Regions from separate parts of the Homo sapiens genome. Here region 2 is linked to region 1. The links are contacts of gene promoters, found by promoter capture Hi-C in blood cells and fetal thymus (Javierre and others, 2016). All regions are on one chromosome and are shown on one strand. Each heading gives the region's core, a stretch centred on a gene start or on the middle of the fragment in contact. The rest is flanking DNA. Distances are from core to core; before and after follow the strand shown.

Region 1 (5,907 bases), core at 1,550-4,049:
ACCTGTTCGTTCTAGCTAACCCATGTCCTGTATCACAGTTGTTTTTCCAGGACTATTCTAATTTCAAATACGCTGTCCCTAGGGCCCCCATAAACATTTATACTTAGTAGATCACATGTAATCGATCTTTGCTTTAGAAAATGTGGTCATGGTATGCAGCATCCCAGGAAGAGGGCACAAGAGAAACTGACCCTGAGTCATGCCTCCACCTCCTTCACCACCAACAGCTGAGATACTCTGAACAGAGGCTGAGATGCTGCCCTCCGGGGTTTATTTAGCACCTGGTGAGTTTGTTCTTCCCTCTGCCTAAAGTGGAGGAAAAATTAAACCTCTAGAAACTGAAAGTGTTGGCAGCAGCCAGGTTAAGAACTGTGTGAGTGAGAACTTACAGAAACAATGGTGAGTGCACAGCCTGGAAGAGACAGCTCTGCACACCCTCTAGAGAGGCAGGTAAGATGGTGACAAGCCCAGAAAAGCACAGACCACCTGAGCGGAGGTCTCTGGGTACCTGGGCAAGTGCACCTCGTGATGGTGACAGCAGCCCAGGACAGAAGTGGCCCTCCTCAGGGCGTTCTTGACATCCCAGCAAGAAAACCTCTCCACAGGAGCTCCCAAGCTGAGAACAAAGGGATGGGAATTCCCAGGGAATTGTTTGGCAGCAACCAGAAAAACTCTGAGGGGCCTTTTAGGGGAGAAAAGAAACCTAGAACCTTTTCTTCCTTTTTTCCTTCTTTTTTTTTTTCTTGAGAGAGTCTTACTCTGTCACCCAGGCTGAAGTGCAGTGGCACAATCTTGGCTCACTACAACCTCCACCTCCTGGGATCAAGCGATTCTCCTGCCTCAGCCTCCCGAGTAGCTGGGATTACAGGCACGGGCCACCACACCCAGCTAATTTTTGCATTTTTAGTAGAGATGGGGTTTCACCATGTTGGCCAGGCAGGACTCAAACTCTTGACCTCAAGTGATCCGCCCTCCTCATTCTCCCAAAAGTGCTGGGATTACAAGCGTGGGCCACTATGCCAGGCCTCTAGAACTTTGTCAAGTAAAAATACCTGTCTTCATGTCTGTTTTCTCCAGGAGCCATTATCTTATATACGTAGGGAGGGGGCTATGTGTAGAGGGAGATGCCAGGTATCTTTAACTGGAATAGGGCCCCATCTTCTCTGCAACAATGCCAAAGTCCAGCTGGGAAAAAAACTGTAGGAAGAATTCTATTATAGCTCAGTGAGAGCTCAGGAATAATTTTTGTAACACTGTATAACATTTGACTGCTCAAGGAGGTTATTTTTTTTAAAAATAGCAGCAGCTTAAAGTTGGATGGAACATACTGTTCAGTTTATTACCAATGAGAAACAGGTATAGAGCCCCTTCTTGAAAATATATCTTCCTCGTTTTTTTTATATATTAAATTCAGATTATATGTCTATATAATTCATTCTTCTTTTGTATATTAAGTTCATATTAGTACATCAGCCCTTGATCAAAGCTAGAAGCTTCCTATTGGATTGTAATTCTGAAAAGGCATTGTTGTAGGGTTAACCAAAGTAACAAGGTTCAAGCATTCATTACATACATATTTTTAGAACACCTCCTTCATGCCAAGGTCCCTGCCCGTTGCTGAGGACAGAACAGGCAGATGTCATCCCTGCCTGGTCTTGTGGCTTTCTTGTGACCTGCTTTGATAGAGGGTTCACACCAGCCCTGTCTAGGCTTGCTTTCTCCAAGTAGTCATATTTTTCAGATTGAAATAATGCACTTTGCAGTAGACACCTGTCAGGCTTGTGGCTGCCTGGAACCTTTTGAATACTCATCCTAGACCTGGAGATTTTCCCTACAATTCCTGCCTCCCTAAGGCAGAATCCAGAGCTCAGTTTCCCATCCCCTCCTGCAGCTGGGGGACCTAGGGGTTGCCAGTTGGTGCAATCACATAATTCTTTCAGAAAAGAGCGACCCAGGATACAGGTTTCATGAAGAATCTGTTTTCAAGAGGGGATGAGGGTGGAAAATTCTGGTTTTCCAGGGCAGCCTTAATGAAGCTTTTGGCATCCAGGGTCCAGCAGTGTGAGCTGTGGGGGTGTCACTGCAGCTGGCCAACGGAATGACTTGTTTATGACTGTGCAGACTGTAGGCATCTCTGGCTATATCAGACATAGTAAGCTACCTAAGATTCTCAATTACTTATCTTCTAAAACTAGTAAGAGTGAGTTCTGTTCTTTGCAAAGAACTGTGACTAATACATATACTGAACTACTGTTACCTGCCAAAATCCAGGTTGACACATTCCTACCTTACATAAACTTCATAAAAATGATGTAAGGGCCGTGTAGTGGCTCATGCCTGTAATCCCAGCACTGTGGGAGGCTGAGGCGGGAGGATCACGTGAGCTCAAGAGTTCCACACCAGCCTGGACAATATAGTGAGATCCCCGTCTCCAGTATTTAAAAAATCTTTTAAGGTACGAATTATTATACATTTTACAGCTGAAAACACTGAGACTCAAAAAGACACTTAATTCATTCTACAAATATTTATTAAAGCCCAACTGTGTGCCAGCCACCAGGCATAGAATAGGGAACAAAATAGTTTCCCTGCAACTATATAAAAAGAATGGCATATTGTACTTAAATGCCTCCTTGCCAAAATAAGAGGCACAGGACAACAGCTGTCTGGAGATGACCTCAAGCCAGTCAGGCCCCATTTTAAATATAGAAACCCCTAAGAATAGCCGCCAGTGCTCCAGACTCAACAGGTGATTGGCCCAGAGAGGGGAGGTGACCCCAGGCCCCAGGAAAGGGAGCGAGGACAGCGCTGGTTCCCGGCTCCCCGCACCATCATGGCTTTGCCTCTGAGGCCCCTGACCCGGGGCTTGGCCAGCGCTGCCAAAGGAGGCCACGGAGGAGCAGGAGGTGAGTGGGGAACGGGCGGATCCGGGGGCTCCCCTACCCTGCCCACCTGTTCACAGGCCCGCCGCCCCAGGACCGCCGCGCTCACCCCGCTCCGTCCGCAGCTCGTACCTGGCGTCTGCTGACCTTCGTGCTGGCGCTGCCCAGCGTGGCCCTCTGCACCTTCAACTCCTATCTCCACTCGGGCCACCGCCCGCGCCCCGAGTTCCGTCCCTACCAACACCTCCGCATCCGCACCAAGGTACGCGGGACGGGCGCGCGGGCGGCACGGGGGTGCTGCGGGGGCGGGGGGGGGTGCTGCGGGGGCGGGGGGGGGTGCTGCGGGGGGGGGGTCGCGCGGGGCGCGGACTCCGGACTCACGGCGCTCACGCGCGCTCCCTCCCCCGCTCTCTCCACAGCCCTACCCCTGGGGGGACGGCAACCACACTCTGTTCCACAATAGCCACGTGAACCCTCTGCCCACGGGCTACGAACACCCCTGAGGCCCCGGACGCCCCCGGACACAATAAAGGTGTGAAGCTTCGAGTCTGCGGCTCTGTGGGGAGGGCGGGGCCACGGGGAGCGCGCCCAGAGGCGCCCGCTCCGCGCATGCGCCCAGCTTGGTAAGCGCTCCTGCTCCGCGCATGCGCCTAGCGCGGTGGGCGCTCCACGTGCTTTTCCCACGCCGCTGATACGGAGGTGCTCGAGGGAGCCTCCTCCACTCACAGGTAGGCGATCCCAGCTCCCTGTCTCTCACCTGGTAATAATGAGGCCTCCCTCTCACACACACCTATTAATAATTAGGGCTCTAGGCTGTAATGGGCTTCCGCGTACACCGAATCCTCACAGTAACGCTGGGAGCAGGGTATAAATTTAGTTCACCTTCTCCCGAGGAAGACCTGAGATTCTTGGGAATTAAATGACTTGTCCAAGTTCCGGCAGCTCGGCAGAGCCCCCATGGGAGCCCAGGGCTGCAGATCCTGAAGTCCCACTTCTTGCCTGACACCTGAGCTGCTGGTGTCTGTGAATCCCAGCTCTCTGGATTTCAGACGGAGGCTCCACAGTCCTGTGTGTGAGGCCTTGGGACCTAATGCTGGATTTGGAATCTTTTGATAATTCTCTATAATCTTTCTTTCTTTTTTTTTTTTTTTTTTTGAGACGGAGTCTCGCTCTGTCGCCCAGGCCGGACTGCGGACTGCAGTGGTGCAATCTCGGCTCACTGCAAGCTCCGCTTCCCGGGTTCACGCCATTCTCCTGCCTCAGCCTCCTGAGTAGCTGGGACTACAGGCGCCCGCCACCGCGCCCGGCTAATTTTTTGTATTTTTAGTAGAGACGGGGTTTCACCTTGTTAGCCAGGATGGTCTCGATCTCCTGACCTCATGATCCACCCGCCTCGGCCTCCCAAAGTGCTGGGATTACAGGCGTGAGCCACCGCGCCCGGCCTATAATCTTTCTTAATGAGTCTTCTATATGGGAAATCACATGCTCCTAGCCTGGCTCTCCTGGCTTCTGAGTACCTCATTCAAGGGGGACAGGAGTTCAAATGAGCTCTGGACATTTCTTCACCTCCTAGGACAGCCTGCCCACTTACCATTACAGAGGAACCTGAAGTGTGTGAAGAAACCCATGACCAATGCATGCCTGCGTGCACGTGCATGCACATGCACACACACACACACACACACACACACACACACTCTTTGACCCTCTCCCCTGATACACACCTCTCAGCCCCATCAAGAAAAGATGACCTCAGGCTCCCATCACCATAGAAAGTGAAAAAACTTTTTCAATGCCCACAAATAGGTTCCCCCGACTATTCCCAGAGAGGCACTCAGGTCCCTGGGTTATAGCTCTTCCACGCAAGGAAAGTGTGCTATAAACATCCTCATTTCATGTGACAATTCTTAAGCATATGAAAATTTATGCTGGCACCATGCCTGCTTCTGTAAAAAGTGGGTCATTGCTGAAAAAGATGGACAGATATGTAAAAACATTACAATCTCTATCTCTCCGAGAAGGTGCTTAGCACCTGGTAGGTTGCTTAGGCCAGTGCAGATCTATGCAGAAGTTGTTTCCATGTAAGTTGATTTATGGTTGCAAGCAAGTCCAGCCCACAGTGGTAGAGATAAACAGGAAAGTGGATTATTAGGACAAAGGCACATTTGGGGCCACACAGCTGAAATCGTCCCCACTGAATGTGGCAGTGTCTTCAGGCTTGTCCTCCAGCATTTCCTTGTAGTGGCGTTTGAAGAAGCCAAGCTATCAGGGGAAATAAATTAGAAAAGCTGGGTAAGTCCGGGCCCGGTGGCTCACACCTGTAATCTCAGCACTGTGGGAAGCTGAGGAGGGTGGATCACCTGAGGTCAGGAGCTGGAGACCAGCCTGGCCAACATGGTGAAACCCCGTCTCTACTAAAAATACAAAAATTAGCTGGGTGTGGTGGTGCGCCTGTAATCCCAGCTACTCAGGAGGCTGAGGCAAGAGAATCGCTTGAACCCGGGAGGCAGAGGTTGCCGTGAGCCAAGATCATGCCACTGCACTCCAGCCTGGGCAAGACAGCAAGACTCCATGTAAAAAAAAAAAAGAAGAAGAAGAAAAAGAAAAGAGAAAGAAAAGAAAGAAAAGCTGGGTAAGAGGGCAGGGAAGAAAATTGGGAATAAGAGGAAGCTGAGAGAGAAGAGGAGGCAACAACTAAGCTAACTTACGTTTGTGTGCGAGAACATTTATGTGAACAGCTATCATATATCGAGCATCTGCTGGCCCCGAGCACAGTAGGTACACACACGACCCGTGGCAGGACAGCATAGATCCAGGCAGATCTGTGCACATGCCCTGGCCTCATTTCTCTCTCACTTCAGCCACTCTGTGATATAAGCATTATTATCATTTCAAAAATGAGAAACGGCCGGGCACAGTGGCTCATGCCTGTAAACCCAGCAGTTTGGGAGGCCGAGGTGGGCGGATCACATGAGGTCAGGAGTTTGAGACCAATCTGACCAACATGGTGAAACCTCTCTCTACT
Region 2 (5,907 bases), core at 1,475-3,974, 61 kb after region 1:
GTCTAGAAAGGCTAGGTGTACCCCCTCTAAATCTAAAAGTTCAAAAATAAAAATAAAATATTTGATTGGTAAAAAATGCTAACAATCGTTTAAGCCTTTAGCAAGGCATAATCTTTTTGCTGGTGGAGGGTCTTGCCTGATGGTGACACGGCTGACTGATCACAGTGGCAACTGCTGGAGGTTGGGGTGGCTATGGCAATTTCCTAAAATAAGACCGTGAGGAAGTTTGCTGCCTGGATGGACTCTTCCTTTCATGAAATTTCTCTGGAGCATGCGATGCTGGTTGATAACATTTGGCCACAGTAGAGCTTCTTTGAAAGTTGGAGTCGTCCGGGAGGTGAGGGGCGCCTCTGCCCGGCCGCCCCTACTGGGAAGTGAGGAGACCCTCTGCCCGGCCAGCTGCCCCGTCCGGGAGGGAGGTGGGGGGGGGGGTCAGCCCCCCGCCCGGCCAGCTGCCTCGTCCAGGAGGGAGGTGGGGGGGTCAGCCCCCCGCCCGGCCAGCCGCCCCGTCCGGGAGGTGAGGGGCACCTCTGCCCGGCCGCCCCTACTGGGAAGTGAGGAGCCCCTCTGCCCGGCCACCACCCCGTCTGGGAGGTGTACCCAACAGCTCATTGAGAACGGGCCATGATGACAATGGCGGTTTTGTGGAATCGAAAGGGGGGAAAGGTGGGGAAAAGATTGAGAAATCGGATGGTTGCCGTGTCTGTGTAGAAAGAAGTAGACATGGGAGATTTTTCATTTTGTTCTGTACTAAGAAAAATTCTTCTGCCTTGGGATCCTCTTGATCTGTGACCTTACCCCCAACCCTGTGCTCTCTGAAACATGTGCTGTGTCCACTCAGGGTTAAATGGATTAAGGGCGGTGCAAGATGTGCTTTGTTAAACAGATGCTTGAAGGCAGCATGCTCGTTAAGAGTCATCACCACTCCCTAATCTCAAGTACCCAGGGACACAAACACTGCGGAAGGCCGCAGGGTCCTCTGCCTGGGAAAACCAGAGACCTTTGTTCACTTGTTTATCTGCTGACCTTCCCTCCACTATTGTCCTATGACCCTGCGAAATCCCCCTCTGCGAGAAACACCCAAGAATGATCAATAAAAAAAATAAAAAATAAAAAAATAAATAAAAAATAAAAAATAAAAAAAGAAAGTTGGAGTCAATTCTCTCAAATTCTATGCTGATTTATCAACTACGTTTATATAATATTCTTTTTTTTTTTTTTTTTGAGACACACTTTCACTCTGTCGCCCAGGCTAGAGTGCAGTGGTGTGATCTCGGCTCACTGCAACCTTTGCCTGAGGGGTTCAAGCGATTCTCCTGCCTCAGCCTCCTGAGTAGCTGGGATTACAGACATCTGCCACCACACCCAGCTAATTTTTTTAGTAGAGATGTTTAGTAGAGAGGTTTCCCTATGTAGGCCAGGCTGGTCTTGAACTCCTGACCTCAGGTGGTCTGCCCACCTCAGCCTCCCTAAGTGCTGGGATTATGTAATATTCTTAATCTTGTGTTGTCATTTCAACAATATTTATATCATCTTCACCAGGAATAGATTCCATCTGAAAAAAAAAAAAAACACTTTCTTTCCTCATCTGTAAGAAGCAGGTCCTCATCTGTGCAAGTTTCATCATGAGACTGCAGCAATTCAGGCTCCACTTCTAATTCTGGTTCTCTATTTCCACACATCCGCAATCACTTCCTCCCCTGAAGCCTTGAGCCACTCAAAGTCATCCATGAGAATCAGAATCAGCTTCTCCCGAACTCGTGTTAATGTTGATATTTTGACCCCCTCTGATGAATCATGAATGTTCTTAATGGCATCTAAAATGGTGAATTTTTTTCCAGAAGGTTTTCAATTGACTTTGCCCAGATCCATCAGAAGAATCACTATCTATGGCAGCTATAGCCTTATGAAATGTATTTCTGAAATAATGAGACTTGAAAGTCGAAATTACTCCTTGGTCCATGGACTGCAGAATGGGTGTTGTGTTTGCAGGCATGGAAACAACACTAATCTCCTTGAACATCTCCATCAGAGCTCTTGGGTGATCAGGTGCACTGTCAATAAGCAGCAAACTTTGGAAAGAAATCTATTTTTCTGAGCAGCAGGTCTCCAGAATGGGCTTAAAACACTCAGTCAAGCATGCTATAAACAGATGTGCTGTCACCCCAGCTTTGTTCCATTTCTAGAGCACAAGAAGGGTGGATTTAGCATCATTCTTCAGGGCCCTGGAATTTTCCAAATGGTAAATGACCACTGGCTACAACTTGAAGTCCTACCAGCTGCATTAGCCTCTAACAAGAGAGTCAACTTGTCCTTTGAAGCTTTGAAGCCAGGCATTGACTTCTCTGAAAGTCCTAGATGCCATCTTCTTCCATCGAAGGCCATCTCATCTACACTGAAAACCTGTTGTTGAGTGTAGCCACCTTCATCAGAGATCTTCTGGAGAACTTGCTGCGCCTTCTCCATCTGTACTTGCTGCTTCACCTTGTACTTTTATGTTGTGGAGATTGCTTCTTTCCTTAAACCTCATGAACCCTGCTGACTTCCACCTCTGCTGACTTCCAATTTTTCTTCTGAAGCTTCCTCACGTCTCTCAGCCTTCATAGAACTGAAGAGCATTCGGACCTTGCTCTGGATTTGGCTTTGGCTTAAGGGGATGTTGTGGCTGGTTTGATCTTCTATCCAGATCACTCAGACTTCCTTCATATCAGCAATTAGGCTGTTTCACTTTCTTATCATTCATATGTTCACTGGAGTAACACTCTTAATTTCCTTCAATAACTTTTTCTTTGCATTCAGAATTTGGCTGTTTGGTGCAAAAGGCCTTCAGCCCATCTTGGCTTTTGGCATGGCTTCTTCACCAAGCTTAATCATTTCTAGGTTTTGATCTAAAGTGAGAGATATGTGGCCAGACGTGGTGGCCCACGTCTGTAATCCCAGTGCTTTGGGAGGCCAAGGCAGGCAGATCACTTAGAGTCAGGAATTCCAGACTAGCCTGGCCAACATGGTGAAACCCCATCTCTACTAAAAACACAAAAATTAGCCAGGCATGGTGGCACCCACCTGTAATGCCAGCTACTCAGAAGGCTGAGGCAGGAGAATCACTTGAACCCCAGAGGGGGAAGTTTCAGTGAGCCAAGATCACACCAGTGTACTCCAGGCTGGGTGACAGAGTGAGATCCTGCCTCAATAAATAAATAAATAGTGAGAGACATGTGACTCTTCCTTTCAGTTGAACACTTAAAGACCATTGTAGAGTTATTATTTGGCTTAATTTCAATATCATTGCATTGCAGGGAATAGGGAGGCCACAGGAGAGGGAGAGAGAGACAGGGGAGCTATCAGTGGTGGAGCAGTCAGAACACACACATTTATGAAGTTCGCCTTCATATACGGACGTGCTTCATGGTGCCCCAAAAAGAGGACAATAGCAACATCGAAGATCACTGATCACAGATCACCATCACAGACATGATAATTACAAAAAAGTTTGAAACATTGTGAGAATTACCAAAGTAACACGGAGACACAAAGTGAGTGCATGCAGCTGGGAAAACAGCACTGATAGACTTGCTCAGTGCAGGGTCGCTGCATACCTTCAGCGTGTAAAAAATGCAGTATCTGCAAAGCGCATAAAACAAGGTATGCCTGCATGTGATGGGTTGTGGGAATTGGTACGAACTGTTTGCAGTTTCATGACAACACGTGGGCCCTTGTTATTCTCAACAGTCTTTCACCCTCTTCTTTAGATTCCCCTTCAGGTGTTAAACTATGTGTTTTTTGTTTGTTTGTTTGTTTAGAGATGGAGTCTCACTCTATCACCCAGGCTGGAGTGCAGTGGCGCAATCTCAGCTCACTGCAACCTCCGATTCCTGGGTTCAAGCCATTTTCCTGCCTCAGCCTCCCAAGTAGCTGGGATTATAGGCATGCGCCATTACGCACAACTAATTTTTGTATTTTGGGTAGAGACGGGGTTTCCCCATGTTGGCCAGCCTAGTCTGGAACTCCTGACCTCAAGTGATCTGCCTGCCTCAGCCTCCCAAAGTGCTGGGATTACAGGCGGGAGCCACCGCGCCTGGCCAGTTGTTAAACTATCTTAATGATAATTAAAACAGATTATAACAACATGATACCTATTGTGTGCCAGGCACTTCATGCATACTAACTCATTTAATCCTCACAGCAGCAGCTCAATAAGGTTGGTTCTATTAGTATCACCATTTTACCAGTGAGAAAACTGAGCACAGAGAGGGTGAGTTACCTGTCAAAGATCACACAGCTGGTGTGTGACAGAACTGCAGGGACCTTCCTTGGCACTTTTTTCTTTTTGGTAACAGCTTTTTTGAGCTATAGACCACATAGCACACAACTCACCCCTTTAAAGTATATGACTTAGTGCCTTTTGGTATGTTTAGAGAGTTGTGAAACCACTACCACAATCAATTTTAGAACATTTCCACTACCCCAAAAAGAGACTCCACACCCATTAGCAGTCACCCTCATGCCCCTGACTTTCCCCCACACCCAGCCCTGTGAAACTGCTCATCTACTTTCTGTCTCTACAGATCTGTCTGTTCTGGACATTTGGCCTGAATACATGTGGCCTTCTGTGTTTGGCTTCCCTCACTTAGCATGTTTTATAGGTGGAATTGCCAGATCACATGGCAACTCTATGTTTAACTTTTTGTTTGTTTGTTTGTTCGAGACGGAGTTTTGCTCTTGTTGCCTAGGCTGGAGTGCAGTGCCGCGATCTCGGCTCACCACAACCCCCACCTCCCAGGTTCAATAGATTCTCCTGCCTCAGCCTCCCAAGTAGCTGGGATTACAGGCACCCACCACCATGCCCAGCTAATTTTTTTTTTTTTTTTGTATTTTTAGTAGAGATGGGGTTTCACTGTGTTGGCCAGGCTAGTCTCAAACTCCTCAGGTTATCCACCTGCCTCGGCCTCCCAAAGTGCTGGGGTTACAGGCATGAGCCACTGTGCCCAGCCTATGTTTAATGTTTTGAGGACCTGCCATGCTGATTTCCAAAGCAGCTGCGTGGATTTACATCATCCCCAGCATGGGGGAGGATGCCCGGTTCTCCACATCCTCACCAACACCTGTCATTATCCGCCTTTGTTTCTAGCCATTCTAGTAGGTGAGAAGTGGCATCTCATTATAGTTTTGATTTGCTGATGACTAATGACATTGAGAATCATTTTATGCACCCATTGGCCCTTTGTACCTCTTCTTTGGAGAAACGTCTACCCTATCCAAATCCTTTGCCCTTTTTTTTTTTTTTTTTTTTTTTTTGACACGGGATTGTGCTCTTTCACCTGGGCTGAAGTGAAGTGACGCAATCATAGCTCACTGCAGCCTCAACCTCCTGGGCTCAGGTGACCTCCCACCTCAGCCTCCCGAGTAATTGGGACTACAGTTACTACAGCACCACAATGCCTGCCTAATTTTTAAAATTTTTTCTAGAGATGGGGTCTCCCTATGTTGCCCAGACTGGCCTGAAACTCCTGGCCTCAAGTGATCCTCCTGCCTCAGCCTCCCAAAGTGTCGGAATTACAGATGTGAGCCACCTGGAGCAGCCCCTTTGCCTATTTTTTAACAGAGCTTTCTTGACTTTTGCCAAGAAAAGCAGCCCTTCGTTCTCAGGGAACCCTGCTCCCTTGGGGTGGAGGGCGGCTGCAGGGATGGGCATTTGGTGGGACCTTGATGGCAGGAAGGGAATAAAATCATGTAGCATCCAGGGAGGAGAGGGGCGAGTGGAAGGGAAGGTTGAAATGACTGGACCTAAGTGGTGAGCAGCAGGGAGCCGGGAGACTGCACACCGGGTTAGAGGTCAGGAGGCCGGAGTGCCCTTCACCATCTCGGACCCACTCTGAACCTCCAACAAACCAAGGCCCTTGTCTTCCT

What was found. Contacts are between HindIII fragments. The CHiCAGO score rates a contact against its expected background, and 5 or more counts as called.
Region 2: a contact is called between a fragment that was not itself captured here and the fragment with the promoter of COX6A2 in region 1, in 1 of 17 cell types (erythroblasts). The highest score is 5.0, in erythroblasts.

Annotation. Positions count from the first base shown.
Region 1 is chr16:31,425,252-31,431,158 of GRCh38, reverse strand. COX6A2 (cytochrome c oxidase subunit 6A2) reads left to right here and starts at 2,799. Exons shown (of 3, transcript NM_005205.4): 1 at 2,799-2,906; 2 at 3,008-3,144; 3 at 3,302-3,428. The coding sequence starts at 2,834. The coding sequence ends at 3,385. ITGAD (integrin subunit alpha D) reads right to left here. Exons shown (of 30, transcript NM_005353.3): 30 at 4,654-5,144. The coding sequence ends at 5,031. The HindIII fragment of the contact is 1,386 bases long and covers 2,039-3,424 here.
Region 2 is chr16:31,363,815-31,369,721 of GRCh38, reverse strand. The region is part of intron 14 of ITGAX (integrin subunit alpha X); the gene reads right to left. Among named protein-coding and RNA genes, the nearest start is that of ITGAX, 12 kb to the right of the region's middle. RefSeq lists an enhancer at 557-1,163. The HindIII fragment of the contact is 286 bases long and covers 2,582-2,867 here.